Linked DNA regions of Homo sapiens: all the other regions are linked to region 6. Evidence: promoter capture Hi-C in 16 types of primary human blood cells and fetal thymus (Javierre and others, 2016). All regions are on one chromosome and are shown on one strand. The core of a region is centred on a gene start or on the middle of the fragment in contact, and the rest is flanking DNA. Distances in the headings are between cores, read along the strand shown.

Evidence for each region. The method cuts DNA at HindIII sites, captures the fragments that hold promoters and counts their contacts. A CHiCAGO score of 5 or more calls a contact.
Region 1: a fragment that was not itself captured here is called in contact with the fragment with the promoter of MTCH2 in region 6 in 4 of 17 cell types (monocytes, M2 macrophages, M0 macrophages and 1 more); the score reaches 8.5 in monocytes.
Region 2: a contact is called between the fragment with the promoter of PACSIN3 here and the fragment with the promoter of MTCH2 in region 6, in 1 of 17 cell types (neutrophils). The highest score is 6.2, in neutrophils.
Region 3: a contact is called between a fragment that was not itself captured here and the fragment with the promoter of MTCH2 in region 6, in 1 of 17 cell types (naive B cells). The highest score is 5.3, in naive B cells.
Region 4: a fragment that was not itself captured here is called in contact with the fragment with the promoter of MTCH2 in region 6 in 1 of 17 cell types (neutrophils); the score reaches 5.8 in neutrophils.
Region 5: a fragment that was not itself captured here is called in contact with the fragment with the promoter of MTCH2 in region 6 in 1 of 17 cell types (neutrophils); the score reaches 5.5 in neutrophils.
Region 7: a contact is called between a fragment that was not itself captured here and the fragment with the promoter of MTCH2 in region 6, in 3 of 17 cell types (total B cells, naive B cells and activated CD4 T cells). The highest score is 12.8, in total B cells.

The regions. Positions count from the first base shown.
Region 1 is chr11:47,296,110-47,298,927 of GRCh38, reverse strand. The region is part of intron 24 of MADD (MAP kinase activating death domain); the gene reads right to left. Among named protein-coding and RNA genes, the nearest start is that of MADD-AS1, 25 kb to the right of the region's middle. The HindIII fragment of the contact is 2,613 bases long and covers 257-2,818 here.
Region 2 is chr11:47,184,934-47,187,834 of GRCh38, reverse strand. PACSIN3 (protein kinase C and casein kinase substrate in neurons 3) reads left to right here and starts at 1,401. Exons shown (of 11, transcript NM_016223.5): 1 at 1,401-1,486. RefSeq lists silencers at 1,303-1,402, 1,453-1,772 and an enhancer at 745-1,631. The HindIII fragment of the contact is 15,006 bases long and covers 1-2,901 here.
Region 3 is chr11:48,135,227-48,138,162 of GRCh38, reverse strand. PTPRJ (protein tyrosine phosphatase receptor type J) reads right to left here. Exons shown (of 25, transcript NM_002843.4): 9 at 1,867-2,124; 10 at 882-1,160. Among named protein-coding and RNA genes, the nearest start is that of MIR3161, 40 kb to the right of the region's middle. The HindIII fragment of the contact is 7,863 bases long and covers 1-2,936 here.
Region 4 is chr11:47,257,409-47,260,193 of GRCh38, reverse strand. It overlaps NR1H3 (nuclear receptor subfamily 1 group H member 3), which reads right to left and starts at 2,198. Exons shown (of 10, transcript NM_005693.4): 1 at 2,065-2,198; 2 at 935-1,014; 3 at 215-403. The coding sequence starts at 977. RefSeq lists an enhancer at 190-758. The HindIII fragment of the contact is 1,012 bases long and covers 932-1,943 here.
Region 5 is chr11:47,276,715-47,279,897 of GRCh38, reverse strand. MADD (MAP kinase activating death domain) reads right to left here. Exons shown (of 37, transcript NM_001376571.1): 5 at 3,035-3,166; 6 at 1,620-1,733; 7 at 819-899. Among named protein-coding and RNA genes, the nearest start is that of MADD-AS1, 6.2 kb to the right of the region's middle. The HindIII fragment of the contact is 3,970 bases long and covers 1-3,183 here.
Region 6 is chr11:47,641,127-47,643,939 of GRCh38, reverse strand. It overlaps MTCH2 (mitochondrial carrier 2), which reads left to right and starts at 1,381. Exons shown (of 13, transcript NM_014342.4): 1 at 1,381-1,561. The coding sequence starts at 1,475. RefSeq lists a silencer at 1,191-1,460. The HindIII fragment of the contact is 6,217 bases long and covers 1-2,813 here.
Region 7 is chr11:48,113,289-48,116,426 of GRCh38, reverse strand. The region is part of intron 3 of PTPRJ (protein tyrosine phosphatase receptor type J); the gene reads right to left. Among named protein-coding and RNA genes, the nearest start is that of MIR3161, 18 kb to the right of the region's middle. The HindIII fragment of the contact is 657 bases long and covers 1,297-1,953 here.

The sequences.
Region 1 (2,818 bases), core at 314-2,813, 350 kb after region 6:
AATAAATGCTGCTCGGAAAACTTGATATCCATTATTCAGAAAAATAAAACTAGACCCCTTAGCTCTCACCATATACAAAAATCAACCCAAAATGGATTAAAGACTTAACTGTAAGACCCAAAACTATAAAACTACTAGAAGAAAACGTAGCAGAAATGCTTCAGGACATTGGTCTGGGCAAAAAGTTTATGGAGACCTCAAAAGTACAGGCAACAAAAGCAAAAGCAAAAACAGGATTATATTAAACTAAAAAGCTTCTACACAACAAAGGACACGATGAAATGAGTGAAGAGACAGTCTGCAGAATGGGAGAAAATATTTACAAACTATTCATCTGACAAGGGATTAATAGCCAGAATATACAAGAAAGAAAAAACTCAACAGCAAAAAAACACAAATAATCTATTTAAAAATGGGCAAATGAGCTGAATAGATCTCTCTCAAAAGAAGACATACAAATGGCTAACAGGTGTTTTGGAATAATGGGCCTCTACACAGGCCTTGAAGCCAAACTGCTGTAGACGGTTCTCACTGCCGCTTCCATTTATGAGAAACTGATGGTTGCTATCTTCACAGTTATGCGGCTGAAGAGTACAAGCAAGCACTGAGATGTCTTATAGTAAAAAGTTCAGAAGATGCTCAAGGTGGAGGATTTTCTTCTAAGCGAAGAGAAGTAATTTTCCTATTACTCTGGCTCCTTCCACCACAAATGTCATCCTTATTGGTTTGAAAAGCATCTAAAAGTAAACAGGAAGTATAGCAGGCTAGCCCCGTTGCCAATTTAATTTTTACGATCCATGGTTAGATTTTGTGGTGAAGGTTGAACTAATATGTAAAGAAGGCCGGGCGCGGTGGCTCATGCCTGTAATCCCAGCATTTTGGGAGGCCGAGGTGGGCAGATCACAAGGTCAGGAGATTGATACCATCCTGGCTAACACGGTGAAACCCCATCTCTCCTAAAAATACAAAAAATTAGCCGGGCATGGTGGTGGGCGCCTGTAGTCCCAGCTACTCGGGAGGCTGAGGAAGGAGAATGGTGTGAACCTGGGAGGTGGAGATTGCAGTGAGCAGAGATCGCGCCACTGCACTCCAGCCTGGGCGACAGAGCAAGATTCTATCTCAAAAAAAAAAAAAAAAAGAAAGAAAGAAAGAAAAGAAAAGAAAACATTATTGAAAACCCTTGGCCGGGAGCAGTGGCTCACGCCTGTAATCCCAGCACTTTGGTAGGCCAAGGCGAGCAGATCACGAAGTCAGGAGATCAAGACCGTCCTGGCTAACATGGTGAAACCCCATCTCCACTAAAAATACAAAAAATTAGCTGGGCGTGGTGGCGGGCACCCGTAGTCCCAGCTACTTGGGAGGCTGAGGCAAGAGAAGAGTGTGAACCCAGGAGGCGGAGCTTGCCGTGAGCCGAGATCGCACCACTGCACTCCAGCCTGGGTGACACAGCGAGACTCCATCTCAAAAAAAAAAAAAAGAAAAGAAAAGAAAACCCCTAATAAACTGTCAGCACAAAAGAAAAATCAATCACTCAATCAGCCAATCAGTCTGTTCAGACTGAGAGAGAGTTAAGGCCCATTAACTTGAGTAGCCTCTCAGTCCTATTCCCAATCTCCACTCTGGGAGGTCACTGACTCTATTAAAAACACACATACAGAAGGCTCTGGGGGTGGGAATGATAACCAGTTTTAAATAGTTGGTTTCATTTAACTTTTATCTTCCTTTCTCCCCATAGGCCTTAAAGATAAGGACCTATGCGTATAAGCTCTTGTAGAGAACATCCATTCTCATCTCTGTTTAATAAAGTAACAAGTCTATCAGTGTTTTAACACAGCCTATAGAGGCACATACACATTAAAAAGCAGAGGCTGGGCACAGTGGCTCATGCCACTTTAAGAGGCCAAGGCAGGAGGCTCACTTAACCCAGGAGTTTGAGACTGGCCTAGACAACAGAGGGAAACCCCATCTCTACAAAAAACTAAAAAATTAGCCAGGCATGGTGGTGTATGCCTGCAGTCCCAGCTACTTGGGAGGCTGAGGTGGGAGGATCACTTGAGCCTAACAGGTCAAAGCTGCAGTGAGCAGTTGAGCAGTGACTGTGCCACTACACTCCAGCCTGGGCAACAGAGTGAGACCCTGTGTAAAAAAAAAAAAAAAAAAAAACAACAAAAAACAGATGTCTACGGCAAGGACTAAAAAGAATTCATCTCCTTCCAGCTGATCATGGGCTTACTGTGTGATCTAGGGAAGTTCTTTTTTCCTAAGGCATTGTTCCCCTCACCTATTAGAAGAGACTACTCACAGCAATATAGTGAATCACAAACTTCTTGAGTAGAAACCATGCCTTTTTCATCCCTGTTTCTTTAGCACAAAATCTGGCACTTAGTAAATCACTTCATGGATGTTTATTAATGAATGAAAACTTCAAATAACTGTTAGGAATATACTAAAATAAAATGCTATTTTATTTATAAATAGAGCAGTGACCAAAATAAAACTGGATAGTCCATAGAAATAGGCAGACTGGTACTAAACGAGAGCTGTAATTGTCCTGACATTGCCACAAAGGTATTACTTTGCCTGTGTTAAACCTGGGGGTTAATACTACATAGGATTCAAAGCCCTTACGTGACTGGGCACGGAGCCTAACTCATCAATGATTCAGGAGAGGGTTCTAAAAGCCCCAGATTGTGAGTCAAATGACTCTGAACAAAGCCTTAAGAAATGTTTTCCTTAAAGCCAAATATAAGAAGATTACCTCTTCCTTATTTAACCTTTACCTCTTTAGCGTCTCTTAACTTTCATTCTTTTCTTGCCT
Region 2 (2,901 bases), core at 152-2,651, 460 kb after region 6:
CCTTGGGTGCCCCACAGGTGTCTTGGGGAGGCAGTTTTACCCTTCCATTAGCACTGCCCAGCAAGTGAGCCCTCGGCAGGCAAAATTACCCCCATTCATTTTCTCCAGGTCCCTTTCCCGTTTTGTGAGCGGATTCATCTGCGTAAAGAACGCGTCAGTGATTCCTCCTGGATTTAGAAACAACATAATTTTGCTATTTTTAAAGCTGCCGTTTAAAACTCCGCGCGCACGCACTCACACTCTTCAGGGAGCTGAGGGTGGGAGGAAAAGTACGAGCTTCAGAGGGCGCAGCCAGGCGCCTCAGCTTCCCAGGGCTCAGAGCCGCGTCCCTGGGGGCGCACTCCTCTGAGAGCGCCGGGGCTCTCCGACCCGCTGCGATTCTGCGCGCCCGGGACCTTCTGCGTCCGGGACCTTCTGCGCCCGGGCGTTCGACCCCGTTGGTCCGCGCTCCCCCTGGTCTTCAAGGCTCAGGGCACCGCCGCTGGGTCACCGGGCCCAGGAGAGAGTGGGAGGGGCGGAGAGGCCGAGCAGGTGGCGATTAGGTCAGCTTCGGAACATTCTTGGACCGCTCCAGTGGATATAAATAACAGACGGAGCCGCTCTGCAAAATCTCACCCCCGGGGGAAAGCGGGGAGAGGGAAGTAGGGAGAGAGGAGGGAGAAGGGATTTATTTAGCGTGGGGTGGCATCGTGGCGATATGGAAAAATGTACCAGACTGATAAAGGGGGTGGAGGGGCGAAGGGTAAGAATGAATCGTGGTACAAAATCTGGAAATAAGAACTCGGAGCGGGAGGAGCTTAGGCCTTTTTGTCCCACCCCCACCGCGTGTTCGTCTCAGGCCTTAGAAGGCGCCCCAGATTAGCAGGGCAGCTGTGGAACGGTAGGGCACGGTTTTGGAGTCCCAGCCCTGCCTGACTAGAGGGAAATCTTGGGCAAGCCTCTGAAAAGCCCCCGAGCCTCAGTTTTTGCATCTGTACAGTGGGAATCCTAATGCTTACAAGGGGTGGTTGTGAGCCTCGCCTGAGCCAATTTCTAAACAAGCTGTGCAGCTAAAAATGTAAGGCAGTGTAATTCCCCCGGCCCCTCTCCAAGGCTGCCCGTGCCGGCCCGGTCCCTTCTTGCTCCCTCGGGTCTCCCAGGCTCTGCAACGGTCCGGGAGAGGCAAAGCCGAAATCTGGCTCCCTGCGGCACCGGGGCGCAACCCTGGGGAGCCCGCCCAGGCACTCCGCACACGGGCGAAGCAGAGAAACCTCGACCCGCGCCACAAGAGCCGCTGGTCGCCGCGATGCCTGCAGCCCCGCTGCCCCGCCGCGTGGGGTTGAGGCAGCGGCGGCCAGGAGAGGGGCGGGGCCGGGGGCCGGGGGCCGGGCTTCCCGGGGGAGGGCCCGGCGCGCTCCGGGAGGCCGCGGCGCGGGCCCAGGAGCGGCAGGACTCGGGCCGGAGCGTGGCCGGACCCCCACCCGCCGAGGGGCCCAGGGAGGACGCGGTGAGTGCCCTGGAGGGGACGCGCGGGTAGGCGGCGGCGGGTGCGGTGGCTCGAGCCCGCCCTCTCCTGCTCCGGCTTCTGAAGTTTGCAATGGAGCCGACTCCCGCCCAGGGAGCCCCCGGCCACCCCGCTCTGCGTGCCGACGGGAAGGGCCGTAGCCGCGCCGAGGGGCCGTCCCATCTGCGGTGCCGCGGGCTTCGCAATTCCGCAGGCCGCCCGGGGGAGGCGGCGCCGGCGCTGGAGGGCTGAGCCGTCTTCAGGGGCCCCTCGAGGGCCCCCGTCCGCTCGCCTCGCGCCCGCCCCGAGGCCCCAGAGGGTCCTCGCTCCCTGGCGATCCCTCGCCCTATGCAGCGAGCCCCGATTCCTGGGTCCGCTGCCCGGGGCCACCATCTGGAGCCCACGGCAAGGCCGGCCCAGGCAGGGGGCGTCCCCTCCCCTTGGCGGTGATCAGTGGCCCCACCCCCGCCAAGACCAAGTTCAACAAGTTTGGCCAAGAAGTCTAGAGCTTCGGTGGCTAGGCCTGGCCCTGCCGCTCCGCGTGGCTCCACGGGCTCCGAGTTATGCAGCTCCGGGCGGCAAGGGGTCCTGTCGAGGGGCGCGGTCCATAAGGGTTGAGGCCAGAGGCGCGTAGCCTCTGGGCGCCGAGCTCTGGAGTGGAGGCTGGGGTTCGGAGTGCGTCATCTGGAAGCAGGCACCCCGGCCGGCAGGTCGGGTTTCCAAAAGTGCCCCTTTGTTATGCCCCTCCCTGGCCCTGCCTCCTCCCGCTTTGGCTGCGCCACCCCCTCCCCCAGCCTCCTGATCTCCTGGCTGGCTCTGGCTTCTGGTTCCAGCCCCTCTAACCTCGCTGTCCCTCTTCGGACCAGCCTACTGACGCCCCCTCCCCTCCCCCCCGCTCTGTCCTCAAATCCTAGAGCTGCGGGCGCACCGGGAGGGGCTGCCCGGGAAAGAAGCCCTTGGGCGCAGCCTGTGACTCAGGTTCCAGGGATGGGCCAGGCAGAATGGCTGAGCTCCCTCCCAGGGGCAAGCCCCCAGCTTCTGGAAGAGGTTGGGGCTGGTCTGGGGCCGGGTACCTTCAGGCCTCAGGTAGGGAGACTGGGTCTTCCCTGAACCAGGGACTTCCTACCTTGGCCCGTGCAGCTGCAAGGAGACCCTGCCAAGCCCAGGAAGACCTCTCGGAGCCGAACGTGCTGGCTCCCGGGGCTGGGAAGATTGCATTACCTGCTTTCTGAGCTCTTGCCTGCGGTGGGGACTGATTTGGGTCTCTGCTGAGCTCAGGAGGCACAGGGTGCCAACCTGCTCAATGGGGGCCAAGGTGCAAGCCCTCCTTGCTTGCTTGCTGAGAGGTCAGGCTGGGGCTGTGGGGCCTGGCTGCACCCGGGGCTTGGGCCTGTGTTTGCTCTGGGAGGCCGGAGGGA
Region 3 (2,936 bases), core at 201-2,700, 490 kb before region 6:
ACCAGGGAGGCTGATCCCATGAGACCATCACTTCCAAATCAGCCTGAACATATCTGAATGGCCTGGGCTAAAAAGGGAAGAGGTAGGAGCGAGAAGGGCAGAAAATGAGTAGTGCACGGGTGCTGAGTGATAAAGGTGCCACAGTCAGCACTGTGAGCAGAAGTGCCCACCACTGTCTGCAAAGCCTTTCCTGGGCTGCCCTGAAAGCATCCTCAATTACACAGAGGGCTCTTCTCTTTATCACACATTTTCAGTTGTGAGATAGGTGAGGATCAAGAAGGATGCAAAGGCTGGGCATCATTTCAATAAACTTTTCATCTTCTCCAGCACAAAAGACAAACCAATGCCAGATATCATCCACATCCTGGCTCAGCCCCACTCAGGCCTCACCTCCCACCTATATCCTCCTGTTCCTGCGGGTCCACTCCTCCCACCCTTGCCTCCTGCTCTTCCTCCAGCCTCCAGATACAGTGGTGATGCTGCACAGGCCCCTCTGCACAGGCCTCTGCCTGTAATGTTCTCATGCCCTGATATCCACATGGCTGGCTCCTTCCCTTCATTCAGATCTTTGCTCAAAAGTCACCTTGTCATTGAGGCCTTTCCTGAGCACTCTAGGTAAACATCCCACTTCCTCCTTCGAAAAGTTCCAAGAAGGCAAGGACTTGACTGGCATATGGTATATGCTCAATAAATATTTATTGAATGCAGAAATGATGAGGGCATCGAGACAGCACCGATAAGCTAACAGGATGCCTCGGAAAGCTCAATGTCCATCACTGCACATCACACAAAACCAGACAAACTACAGACTTGGGAGGACTGACCTGCAAGGTCAGCACCACTCAGGGAGGAGTCCAAGAGGCAGTTGGGGCTACACTCACCTGTACAGAATGACTTCCGGCCAGGTTCCAGTGACTTGATCCCATCCCCTACTTGTGCAAAGATCTCCACTGTGTATGATGAGCCAGGTATTAATTCAGTGACTGTAGCGTCAGTAATTCCAATGTCCGTGACTACTTGTGTTGCGTTGCTGGAATTTCCAGCCTTCTCAATAAGAAGGCAGTAGGAGTACGTGGGAGAGGCGTCATCAAAGTTCTGCCAACTTAAAGTTGCTGCTGTGGTGTTGGTACTTACATCAATGTTGGACACATTGCTGGGCCCTTGATTTTAAAAAAAAGGCAATTCATGTAAAAGCACAGATTAAGTAGAATTCCAGGACTATTTACTATATCCAAAAATAGCCTGGCTCGTTTTAGAAAGAATGAATAAAACTAGTATTTGCTGGCTCAAAAGATGGAAAACTTCCCAAAAACACATCAAGAAAATAATTATACAGATTAAGTCTCAAAAGAAGTTTAATTTAGGCTTCTTTTAATACTTCAAGTTTATTTCAAATATATTTTTAACATTTAATTTCTAATCTGTTTTTTAAATCTAATAGATGGAGAAAAATATACTAAAAACATATTACAAACTAACATCTTTACCATGTATTTAATTCAAATATTCGCAAAACACCTCCCTAACTGTTGCAGGCGAAGCTCCTCATCTGGGCAGTATCTTCCAATACCAACATGACAAGGTGACCCTTCTCTACTCTGTATTCTCAAGGAATGACTAGAACCATTTCAGTCACCATTCCCAAGGAATCATTTCTTCCTTCTAATGACAATTCTAAGTTCACATAGCTTGAAGAACAGTGCCCCATGGTGACAGCAGAACCATTGCTGAGACCAATGTTTTCAACTTCAGCAGTTTCAGAGTCAACCTGGATCCCAGAAGCACACTGGCCATCATTTAACCAGTGCCTCCTCCAAGAGACAGTTAGAGAGGCTGTTCCTTAGAAGGGCATCCTAAGAGACTTACGTGTGTACTGTGCAGTGGAGTTGGGGTCCCCCCAGACGTGGTCCACTTCTGGAGAGATGGTGATGTTATATAAGGTGCCCGGAATCAGGCCCTGGAGAGTAATCGCTTTGTCATACGTGCTTGTGTGGTTAGAGCCATGCTTGGACTCTATGACTAAATGGTAGACATACTCGGAAGCACCGTCAGGGCTCTTCCAGTCCAGCCACATCTCCGTGGTGGTGACGTAGACCACGTGGATGTCAAACACTGCACTGGGAACTGCTCAGAAGAAAGGAAGGAGAAGGGAAAACTGTTACTATCATGACGCCCAGCTTCCTCTCCAAGTGCTGTCGAGAGGACCTGCTCTTTTGCCATTACGCTTTCTAATGAGTTCACAAAAGGCACACTCCAAAATCGAGCTGAGAAATGCACACACTCAGTGCTCTCAAGAATTTCAGCTCTTCTGTGACGCACATGAACTTCCCAGTTTATCTTACCAGTTCTCCAGTTTTTTGTTGTTGTCTTAAAAATGAGCCCTTAGGCTGGGTGCAATGGCTCATGCCTGTAATCCCAACATTTTGGGAAGCCGAGATGGATCACTTGAGGTCAGAGGTTCGAGACTAGCCTGGCCAACATGGTGAAAACCCATCTCTACTAAAAATACAAAAATTAGTTGGGTGTGGTGGTACACGCCTGTAATCCCAGCTACTCGGGAGGCTGGGGCACAAGAGTCGCTTGAACCCAGAAGGCAGAGGTTGCAGTGAGCCGATATCACACCACTGCACTCCAGCCTGGGCGACAGAATGAGGCTCTGTCTCAAAAAAAAAAAAAAAAAAAAAAAGGCCAGGCGCGGTGGATCACGCCTGTAATCCCAGCACTTTGGGCAGCCAAGGCAGGCGGATCACCTGAAGTCGGGAGTTTGAGACCAGCCTGACCAGCATGGAGAAACCCCGTCTCTATCAAAAAAAGTACAAAATTAGCCGGGCGTGGTGGTGCATGCCTGTAGTCCCAGCTACTTGGGAGGCTGAGGCAGGAGAATCACTTGAACCCGGAAGGCAGAGGTTGCAGTGAGCCAAGATCGCGCCATCGCA
Region 4 (2,785 bases), core at 188-2,687, 380 kb after region 6:
ATAATTTTTATTTCCATTTTATAAACAAGGAAAGTGAGGCTCAGAAAGGCCTAGAGACAAAATTCACACTTAGATCAGTCAGATTTAGTTAGCTCTAAAGCCTCTGAACTTAACCATGAGATTATATATAAAGTAAAAACCCCCAAGGAACCTCTTCCAGATCCAGGACCTGGAATCTGGACCCCTACCTCCTCCAAACCCAGAAGCTCCTCACCTGTGGGTTCTGAAGGGGGCTCTGCCCTGGTGAGCAGGGCTGTGGGCTCTGCAGCCTCCAGCCCCACCCCTGCAGTACCCCCAGCAGAGTGGGGCATCCTGGCTTCCTCTCTGAGGATGCAGCTGCTGCCTCCCTGGGCCTGGCTGCTTGCATCCTGTGCGCCTGGCTTCCACAGCTCCACCGCAGAGTCTGAGCTCCAAAAGAGAGGCACAAGGGGGTCTCAGGCCCCATCCCGGCTCCACGGCCCAGCGTCCTAGCTGGGAAACTGCAAACTTATCCCCACCCTTAGAGGGCAGCAAAGTCCCAGCTCAGGCTTTGGGACCCTAGAGTCTGTGTGGGCTCTAGCTAGGACTAGTCACTTGTAGTTTCTTACATCTCAGGACCTTAAATGAAGATGTTAATCCTTGTCCCTTTGGGGGGCTGGAGTGTATGCATTTCAGAGATCAGATAAAACTCTTCAAAGCCAGAGCAGGGTAAGCACTCAGCTGGCCAACTCTCTAGCAGCAAATCCAGACTGGGGAGGACTGGGCGGGTGCCTGCAAGGGCCAGGCACTGGAACCAGGGGAGAGGTGATCTGGGCGGGAGGCAAGCACGACTAAGAATGACTCTGGACTGCTCTCTGGAGGAAGGAAGAAGGCAGGTAATGAAGGAGGCTGATTCCTACAGGAGGCGTGGAGCCTGCGGTCTGGGCTCAGGGGAGAGGGATGGAATGAAGCTTACCAGGAGGAATGTCAGGCACAGGGGCCCCCAGCCACAAGGACATCTCTTCCTGGAGCCCTGGTCATTACCAAGGCACTGTCCTGCAGGAAGGACCCAGATTATACTCTTCTAGAACTGGGCTCCTTTCTGGCCTCAGCTCCCTTCTCCACCTGATCCTCCCTTTTATCAATATCAACAATATCAGCTAACATTTACTTGCCATATATTAGCCTGTACTAAGGCTTTATTATATTACTATTATGTTTTTTAGAGACAGGTTCTCCCTATTTTGCCCAGGCTAGTCTAGGAATTCCTGGGCTCAAGTGATCCTCTCACCTGGGCCTCCCAAAGTGTGGGGATTATTGGAGTAAGCCACTGCGCCCAGCCTGTTATAAGGCTTTATGTGCTTTCCTCATAATATCCCTCTGAGGTCAAAACTATTAATTTTTTTTTTGAGATGGGGTCTCTCTATGTTGCCCAGGCTGGAACTCAGTGCTATTCACAGGTGCAATAATAGGACACTATCGCCTCAAACTACTGGGCTGAAGCAATCAGGTTTCAGCTTCCTGAGTATCTGAGATTATGGGCGCACGCTACTGCTCCTGGCTCAGGACTATTCTTAAACTCATTTTACAGATAAGCAAACTGAGGTTCAAAGAGATTAAGTAACTATGGTCACACAGTTAGGCGGCGGTAGAGTCAAGACTCCAACCCTCCTCTGACTCCAAAGTCTGGGCTCCCAGCCACCGTGCCGGCTTTTCTCCCCCAAAGTCCCCTCCAGGCCAGCAGGGAATGTTTGGGTGCATCTGCCCTGCTTCTCTTGGGCCCCTTCCCCCTCACTCCAACACTGAGGACAGCTCACTCCACCCAGTGAAACACGCTGCTTATTAGAGAACCTCGCTCGTGCCACTTTCCAGGGTCCCAGCACAAACCTGTCTCCAAGAATCTCCCCAATTCACATAGAGGACCTCCTCCCCTGAGCCCCTCATGAGTTATTCTGGGACCCAGAGTCCTGCTCCTGTCCCAAGCTTCCATCACCATCACCCCTCACTTCTCCCCAGAAACCCCCTTCTCAGATCCTTAGGACATTCCCCGACCCCACCCCAGATACACACACAGAGCCCCAGGCCACTGCTAAGGAGCAGACCCACCAAATCCCCAGGCCACCAGACTTCCTGGGTGGGCAGTCTCTGGAGCCCCCTTGCTGGGAGAAGAGGATGGTGCAGTTTCCTGTCCAGAAGTCTCGGTGGCCAGCCAGTGAGCTGGAGCTGAGCACAAGCAGGACCTGGAGCCCCAGAGAAGTAGCAATTTGGGGAAAGGCTGAGGGGAGGGACTGCCGAGGGGTCAGGCCACCCCTCCTTCCTGCCTGGTGACCACAGCCCTCCCCTCCTCACCCCCGCCCACAGGGCAGCTTCTCCACCAGGCTGGCTCCTCCCCAGCCGGCCACCCCCTCTCCCGCCACTCCCGCCCCCTACTCCCGGCCAAAACAGTGGCATTTCCCTGCAGACCAGCCAAGTTCCATGTCTCTCCCCTTCCTCTCCTTACCCAGCGCTCTTAGCAGCTCTTGCAAAAGGACTGCCTCCCAGGAACCCCCACCCCAATCCCAGCAGCCTCCAGAATCGTGTTCCCTCCCCTCCATAGGCACCTCGTGGAGCAAAGGTCCCAGCACGGCCCGGAATTGCGACACTGAGCCCCAGCGGCTTTCCCAGCCTCCCTCCTCCTCCCTTGCCTCTGGGAAGAGGCCAAGAAGCTCTCCCCACTAGCCCCAGGCCTCAGCCAAGCTGGTAGAAATCCAGGGGTGGAGAGAGGCAGGTGCTGGGCCTTCCAGGGAGTTTCTGAAAGTGGGTGCCCTGCGGGGGCCACAGATAAGAG
Region 5 (3,183 bases), core at 451-2,950, 360 kb after region 6:
GGTTTCAACATAATGGCCAGGCTGGTCTTCAACTCCTGACCTCGTGATTCACCTGCCTCGGCCTCCCAAAGTGCTGGGATTACAGGCATGAGGCACCGTGCCCAGCCAAATAAAGGAATTTTTGAAGAAAGGAACCCTCAGGATCAACTCTAGAAGATAATATAAAAGCAGCCAGACGGTCCACACTACTAACTTCCACCTAACAAGACTGAGAAAATCGGCCGGGCGCAGTGGCTCACGCCTGTAATCCCAGCACTTCGGGAGGCTGAGGCAGGCGGATCATGAGGTCAGGAGATAGAGGCCATCCTGGCTAACATGGCAAAACCCCGTCTCTACCAAAAATACAAAAAAATTAGCCGGGTGTGGCGGCGTGCGCCTATAGTCCCAGCTCCTGGAGAGGCAGAAGAATGGCGTGAACTCAGAAGGCAGAGCTTGCAGTGAGCCGAGATCGCGCCACTGCACTCCAGCCTAGGGGACAGAGCAAGACTCCACATCTCAAAAAAAAAAAAAAAAAAAGACTGAGAAAATGTTCTGAAGCCATAGAGAGTGGCACACATACAAGAAACAGAGAGTGAAGGGCTATTTTATACAGCATCATAAGCATTAGAAGATGGTAAAGCATACAATGAATTGGAATCAAAAACAGAAATTCACTCTGCCACCCAGAAATGGGATACGCGTTTTCTTAAGCCCATCCAGGGTGAAGAAAACTACTCCACTTGAAGTTTGATAGGAAATTGGCTCTGAGAATAGCTGTCTTCTTATAGGAATCCCACAGCATCTAATACTCCCCTTTCTTTCCTTCGTTCTTCACCTACCTGCTTTAAATGCTTTTTCAGCTCTAGTGATTCTGGTTCTGGCAGGATAGGCAGCACTTCTGCATTGGTGGGGGCAATCACCTGCACCAGAGAAATGATAAAAGACGTGACCTTAGAGTTTATTGCTCAGGAATTTCACTTACATAAATAAAAATAAGAGGACGTATATACATTATTATTATATAAACGAATATACATTATATAACTGCACAGTAAGATATATGTACACACATATATGACATACATATGCATCTGAAATGAAATATAACTTAATGTTATTGGTTATTATCTCTAGATAAAAGGATTATGGTTTTTCTTTTCACTTATTTTATTTACGCTTATTTTTATTTTTTTTAAGTTTTACAATGAGCACACATAAGGGCTTCCCACCAAAGTCTGAATGTATTCACATTGCAGAATGGTCATATAATTAATTAAGCCTGCACTGAAAGACAGTTTCTTACTGGAAACTATACCCCAGGGAAACCATTAAGAGATGATCTATACCACATGTAATGGCCCTCAGATCACAACTGTCTGACTGCTCTTGGAGGATATGGTGGGGGGTCACTTAATTCTGGCAAAAATAAATCCTGTAATTCTCTGAGACCTAACCAAGGGTTTATTTGGCTAATAAGGTAAAAGGAGCATTTAAAAAAACTTGTTTCAGTAAGTCTCGCAATAGAAATTATCCAACAACTTAGGACGTTCCTGAAAGGAATCTAGAAACAGATATCTCAGGACTGGGTCTAGAATGCAATCCTCCTCTAGACTCTACAATGCCTCAGCCAAGAACCTCACCCTATTGCTGTCCAGATCCACTAGCCATACATCATCAGGCATTTTGAAGTCCAGTTTGTAGAGGAAGAAGCTGGCAGGAACCCCAATGATGTACGGGGTTGGAGCCAACAGCAGCTGTGGAAATGATAAAGAAGGTGAGAAACAAAGACAAAACCTATCATGAGCACTTATCAAGTCTGGATTCTTCTAGATAAGGAAATGCAGATACAATCCCTCTTCCAAAACTCTTGAGGCCAGATGTATTTGAAAATTCAGAATTTTTCAGATTTTTTGAAAGGTAACATGGTACATTTTTTTGTATACAGTAGTCTTTCTTATCCACAGTTTCACTTTCTGTGATTCCAGTTAACTGAGGCAAACTGTAGTCTGAAAATATTAAAAGGAAAATTCCAGAAATAAACAATTCATAAATTTTAAACTGCAGCTTGATCATATCTGAAGTGCAGGACAATAGTTCTGAGAAGCATGATGAAATCTCATGCTGTCCCGCTCTGTCCCACCCAGACATGAATCACCCCTGTGTCCAGCCTGTAGCCATCTCGGTTATCAGATCAACTGTCACACAATCTCAGCGTTTGTGTTCAAGTAACCCTTATTTTACTTAATAATGGCCCCAAAGCACAAGGGTACTGATGCTGGCAATTGGGATATGCCAAAGAGAAGCCAAATATATGTAGAAAGAGGCTGGGCACGGTGGCTCATGCCTGTAATCCCAGCACTTTGGGAGGCTGAGGCAGGCGGATCACCTAAGGTCAAGAGTTCAAGACCAGCCCAGCCAACATGGTGAAACCCCGCCTCTACTAAAAATACAAAAAATTATTTGGTGTGTGGTGGTGGCAGTGCCTGTAATCCCAGCTACTAGGGAGGCTGAAGCAGGAGAATCACTTGAACCTGGAAGGCAGAGGCTCCAGTGGGCCGAGATTGTGCCACTGTACTCCAGCCTGGGGGATAGAGGGAGACTCTGTCTCCAAAAAACACCAAATATATGCCCAAAGAGAAAACTGTTACTCTCTTACTGTGTCTAATTCATAAATTAAACGGTATCACCGGTATATATGTATAGAAAAAAACAAAGTATCTATAGAGTTTGGAACTATCTGTGGTTTGAGGCATCCACTGGTGGGTCTTGGAATGTGTCCTCCACAGATAAGGAGGAACTACTGTATTACGTAACACACGTAACACCTGCTGCAGTGTAGCCAGTGGCCTACAGTCATTAACATTTGTTGTGATAAATGAAAACTAAAATAGCATAAGCCTTGCCACCAGATCAGTTCAAATCAGTCAGATTTTGTAGACAAATAAGTTATGACAAAGGATTGAGGACCAGCACTCACTTACAACTTCTTTGAGCATTAAGCCTCCTCCCTCAGGAAGACAGAGGTGAGAAAGCCGGAAGTCGCCTTGAGACTCACCTGCTCTGCTGATGCCATGCAGGTGGGTAGCAGCGGGATGACAGGAAACATATACTCCAGTGGGTAGATCATTGCCACGAATGCCATCACAGACATGGAGAGTGCATTGTAGTCTCGGGACTGTAGCACCACCTGTCATGAGCCATCCA
Region 6 (2,813 bases), core at 132-2,631:
GGTGTGAGCCACCGTGCCCAGCCAATATCTGTATTTCAATATAAAGTTTTTTAAAAAAAACCCTTTCCTATGCATAATTTCACTTAATGCTCATAATAACCCTGAGAGATACACAGTAGTGTTAGATTTAGATACAAAAACTGGAAATTAAAGTAGCTAAAATGACAAATGGATGCAGTGGAAAAGCCAGGATCCAAATCCAAGTCTTTCCCCTACAGTACTTCACTCTGCTCCAAGCTCAGATTCACCAAATGTTGTTTGATAGAACACGTGAGCTGGGGCTGAAGGAGCAGGGACAATGCCTTTTTCACTTTTGCCTCTGATAGCCTGTAGACTGGTAGGCACTGAAGTATTTGTTCACTTGTGCAATAAATATTTATTGAGCACCTCGTATGTGCTGGGCACTGAAAACACAACCGTGAACAGAGGCTGTCACGGTTCCTGAACTCATGGAGCTTTCATTCCAGTGGAGGAGACATAATTTCAGTGATAATGCTACGACGGGGCACAATGTGGGAGAAAATAAGAGGGAGGTGGCCAGGCGCGATGGCTCCTCACTCCTGTAATCCCAGCACTTTGGGAGGCCAAGGCGGGTGAATCACGAGGTCAGGAGTTTGAGACCAGCCCGGCCAACATCGTGAAACCCCGTCTCTACTAAATAGACAAAAATTAGCCGGGCGTGGTGGCGTGTGCGTGTAATCCCAGCTACTAGGGAGGCTGAGGCAGGAGCATTGCTTGAACCTGGGAGGCGAAGGTTGCAGTGAGCTGAGATCGGGCCACTGCACTCCAGCCTGGGTGACAGAGCGAGACTCCGTCTCAAAAAAAAAAAAAAAAAGAAAGAAAAAGAAAAGGGGGAGGTAATTTTAGAATGGTCAGAGAAGGTTTTTTTGAAAAGATAACATTAATCAAACGAATAAATGAATGAAAAGCCACTCGCTAGCGGATTCATTATTTGCTATACTTATTTAGAGTTTGTCAGTCACGAGACTGTTACGGCTCTGATGCTGAGTATCTTTTGAATCCTATGTTGATGATGCCCAAAAGGCAAGTGCAGAGATGAAGCATAATGAAGAATCCTTTTCAATTTCTTTTCAGTCCTCTGACCTTGCCTCTGCCGTCACGGTCACACTCCCCCACTGACACTCCCATTCTTCTGTTTCCGGACACTTGCGGCCTGGAAGCGCATGTGCAAGAGAAACCGTCATTCCTGGTGAAGGGCGAGCCCCCGGCAGAACGCATGCGCCTCTGTCCCTTAAGCCCCGCCCCGACCTCAGCGCCCCCTCGCGAGCGCCTGCCGTTTCTCGGGGCGGGACGGGGGGGCGGGGACTGGGCGGAGAGGCGCGTGCTGCTGCGTGCGTGCGCGCGCGCCGCGGGCGGGCCAGTGAAACCGGCGGCCCTGGCACGTGACCTAGGACCGGCTCACCGGGTCGCTTGGTGGCTCCGTCTGTCTGTCCGTCCGCCCGCGGGTGCCATCATGGCGGACGCGGCCAGTCAGGTGCTCCTGGGCTCCGGTCTCACCATCCTGTCCCAGCCGCTCATGTACGTGAAAGTGCTCATCCAGGTATGAGGCGTCGCCGCTCCCTACCCCGCCCGGCGCCCCGTTCGGTCGCTGCTGCTCAGGGCGCCTGAGGATCGGCTCAGCCTTGCGGGCCTTTCATTCTCCCGAGATGCTGCTGCTCCTCCGCTGCCCTTTACCTCCCCGCAGGGACAGCTTCCTCAGTCCCGCGGCCCCGCTTGGGGGCCTCGCCGAGCCCTCGCCTCGCCGCCCAGCGTTGAGGCCCTCTCCTCCCTTAGCCAACCGCCACCCGGCCCTGCCCTGCCCGGCGGATCCTCTGAACTTTGGTTCTTCGTCACTGAGGTGGATCCTGGCCGGTCGCCACCAAAGGCTTCCGAACCCTCCCTCTCGCCCCTCCGAAATTCACATTCACCACTACTCCCCCCAAAATCTCAGACGCAAAACACGAAATACTCAGTTGAAGACAAATGTGAAGTTAGGTGGGAACCAACATTTTATTTTTTATTCCTTTTTTTTTTCTTTTTATGCTACTGTTACTACTGCTTTTCTGTTCCGAGGTTTTCGCACCAGATACTGAGAGAAACACAAGGAGCTCATTCAGAAGTGTTAATGAAGGGGTTGCTCTGTCAGATTTCGGAAGGATGCATTGAGCGCTTTCCAGCAGCGGCCCATGTGGCTCCTGACAATGAAAATCACATTTGTCAGAGCTGGAAATTAGTGAAGCTGAGTTTTAGCGAGTTTAAACATGGGAGTTAGTTTCTAATCTACTGTCAAATAATTATTACATGGTATTTTATATTCACATGCAGGTAGGCCAAGTAAGTGATAGACTTAGTGTTTCCAGTTCCTTTGCTATATCCCTGTAATGGGCAGGTCATTCTTTTTTTTATGCTTTTACTGAGAGTTGACATAATTACCTCATGCACTGTGCCTAGGAATGGAACAGTTTTTAGAACCCCTGTCTCGCCGTCTACTTTTCTGTAAAAAATAGGCAAGACACTAGAGAGGGCCCCATTTCTTATTCTTGAGTTGTTGGGAATCCAAATTATTTCTTGCTGAGTAGACCTGTGTGAATTCAGATTCCATATGTTAAAGGCTATTGCAAATAAATTCTTTGTACTTAGAACAAAGACTGATTAGAATGTACTGTAACATCCAAAACAGAATTGGCACATTTGGGGCTAGATAGCATCGGAGGTGACAGCATGTTGCAGTATATAGTAAGAACCCTTGGGGCCGGGCGCGTTCGCTCACGCCTTCCCAGCACTTTGGGAGGCCGAGGTGAGCGGATCACGAG
Region 7 (3,138 bases), core at 376-2,875, 470 kb before region 6:
GCTTTATATATTTAGGCATTCCAATGCTGGGTGCATATATATTTATAATTGTTAAGACCTCTTGATGAATTGATCCCTTTATCATTATAAAATGATGTTTGTTGTCTCCATTAAAAGTTTTGAACTTAAAGTCTATTTTATCTGACATAAGTATAGCTACTCCTGCCACTCTTTAGATTTCCATTAGCATGGAGTATCTTTTTCCATCCCTTCACTTTCAGTCTAGGCATGTCCTTGCAGGTGAGGTGAGTCTCTTGTAGACAGCATACTATTGAGATCGGTTTTTTTTTTTAACCCATTCACGCACTCTATGTCTTTTGATTGGAGAATTTAAACCCTTTACTTTCAAGGTTATTATTGATAGGTAAGAACTTACTACTGCCATTTGGTTGTTTTATAGACTCTTTGTTCCTTCCGTCCTCTCTTACTATCTTCCTTTGAGGTTAAGTGATATTCTCTAGTAGTATGTTTTGATTCCTTGCTTTTTATTTTTTGTGTATCTACTAAAGGTTCTTCTTTGTGGTTACCATGAGGCTTATAAAAAGAATCTTATAGTTATAACAGGTTATTTTATGCTGATGACAACTTTGATCACACACACAAATTGACCTCTACACTTCTAGTCCATTCCCCACTCATATTATGAATTGTTTATGTCACCATTTACATCTTTTTATATTGCATATCCCCCCTGCAAGTTATTGTAGTTATTATTTTTTAAGTATTATCTTTTAACTTTCATATTAAAGATATGTATGACCATTACAGTATTCATGTATTCTGAATTTGACTGTGTATTTATTTTACTAGTCTTATCCTTTCATATGTTTTCAATTAATCACTAGTGTCCTTTTCTTTCAGCTTAAAAACTCTCTTTAGCATTTCTTATAAGACATGTCTAGTGGTGATGAACTCCCTCAGCTTTTGTTTCTCTGGTAAAGTCTTTTATCTTGCCTTCATTTTTGATGGCCAGTTCTGCTGGGTATAGCAATCTTGGTTGGCAGGTTGTTTTCCCTCAGCATGGTGAATATATCATCCCACTCTCTCCTGGCCTGTAAGTTTCTGCTGAGAAGTCTGCTGCTAGCTGAAGTGGAGCTCCCTTACATGTTATTTGCTTCTTTTCTCTTTTTGCTTTCCAAATCCCCATTGTCTGTGATGTTTGACAGTGTGATTATGTTCTGGAGTAGTCTTGTTTGAATTGACTCTGATTGGAGTCATTTGTCCTTCCTGTACCTGGATATTTATATCTTTCTCCAGGTTTGGAGAGTTTTCTGCTACTATTTCTTTAAATAAGCTTTCTACCTCTTTATCTTTCTCTTCCCCTAGATGAACTCCAATTCAAATACCACGTCTTTTGATGCTGTTGCATAAATCCTATAGGCATTCTTCATTCCTTTTTATCCACTTTTTTATTTTTCCTCCTCTGTATATTTTCAAATAATCTGTCTTCAAGTTCAAGGATTATTTCTTCTACTTGATCAGTTCTACTCTTGGTGCTCTCTATTACATTTTTCATTTTGTTCAAAGTATTTTTTAGCTTCAGAATTTCTGTTTGCTTCTCTGTTAAATATCTCAATCTAGTCACTTATTGTTTTCCTCATTTCTTTGAATTCTTTATCTGTATTTTCTTAAAGTTTGCTAGGCTTCCTTAAAACATGTATTTTGAATTCTCTGTCAGACAGTTCATACATCTCCCATCTCTTTATGGTCAACCACTTGCACTTTATTTTGTTTCTCTGGTAATATCACGTTTCCCTGATTATTCTTGATCCTTGTGACTCTGTGTTGATGTCTGTATATTTGAAGAAGTAGGTTCTTATTCCAATCATTGTAGATTGGCTTCCTCTGGAAATGCCCTTCAACAGTAAGCCTGTCCAGTGATTTCTGGGAAGACCATCTGGTATGGTCCCAACCTCTAAGCCCAAATTTTTGTAACAATAATTAACATAAGCTTGCTAGGAATTTTTCTTTTTTTTTTTTTTTTTTTTTTTTTTTTTGAGACAGAGTCTCACTCTGTCGGGAGTGCAGTGGCACCATCTCCACTCACTGCAACCTCTGCCTCCTGGGTTCAAGCAATTCTCCTGCCTCAGCCTCCCGAGTAGCTGGGATTACAGGCATGCATGACCACACCCGGCTAATTTTTGTATTTTTAACAGAGACGGGGTTTTGCCATGTTGGCCAGGCTGGCCTTGAACTCCTGACCTCAGGTGATCACCCACCTTAGCCTCCCAAAGTGCTGTGATTACAGGCATGAGCCACTGTGCCCAGCCCCTTAGGAATTTCTAAAAGTTTCTCATATTACCCTAGAAATAATTCAATGACTTATTTTAACTGTGTATGTGATTTTATCAATACTTCTAGAACTAACAAAACTATTGTATCACAATGTTTTTTATGAAAAATTATAAATAAATAATCTACCTTCCCAACAACAGGGGAGCAGTTAAATAATTTACAATGCTTTTAGACAAGTAATTCTTAAACACTGTGGTCTCAGGGCCCTTTTAACTTCTTAAAAATTATTAAGGCTCCCGGAGAATTTTTGTTTATATGGGTTATATTGATTAATATTTACCATACTGTATTAGAAATAAAAAAGATAAAGTTTTTTAAACAATATGAAAGCATACATTCCATTAGCTGTAAGAGTGACAGTGTCATCCCAAATCATATAGAATCTGCAAGACTCCACTGTACACTCATGATAAAATGAGAGTAAAGAAGCCAAATAACATGTTAGTAGTATTATGAAAACAATACCCAGAAATACCTTGAAAGAATCTAGGAGACCCCTAGAGATCTCTGAACCACAGTTTTAGAATCAATTATCTAACCCAGGTATCAGCAATGTTTTTCTGTAAGGGCCACAGAATAAATATTTCAGGCTTTACAAGCCACAAATTCTCCATTGCCACTACTCAATTCTAGCATGAAAGCAGCCATAGGCAGACTCAATAAAACTTTACTTACAAAAACAGAAAGTGATCTATATTTGGCCCAAGGACCATTATTATCTGCCAACCCTGATTTAGAAAATAGAATGCCAGGCAGGTATTAAAACTGTCCTGTAGAAATGTATATACTAACAGGGAAGAATATTTGTAATATATTGGTGAGAAGCTACATGTAAAGGATGAC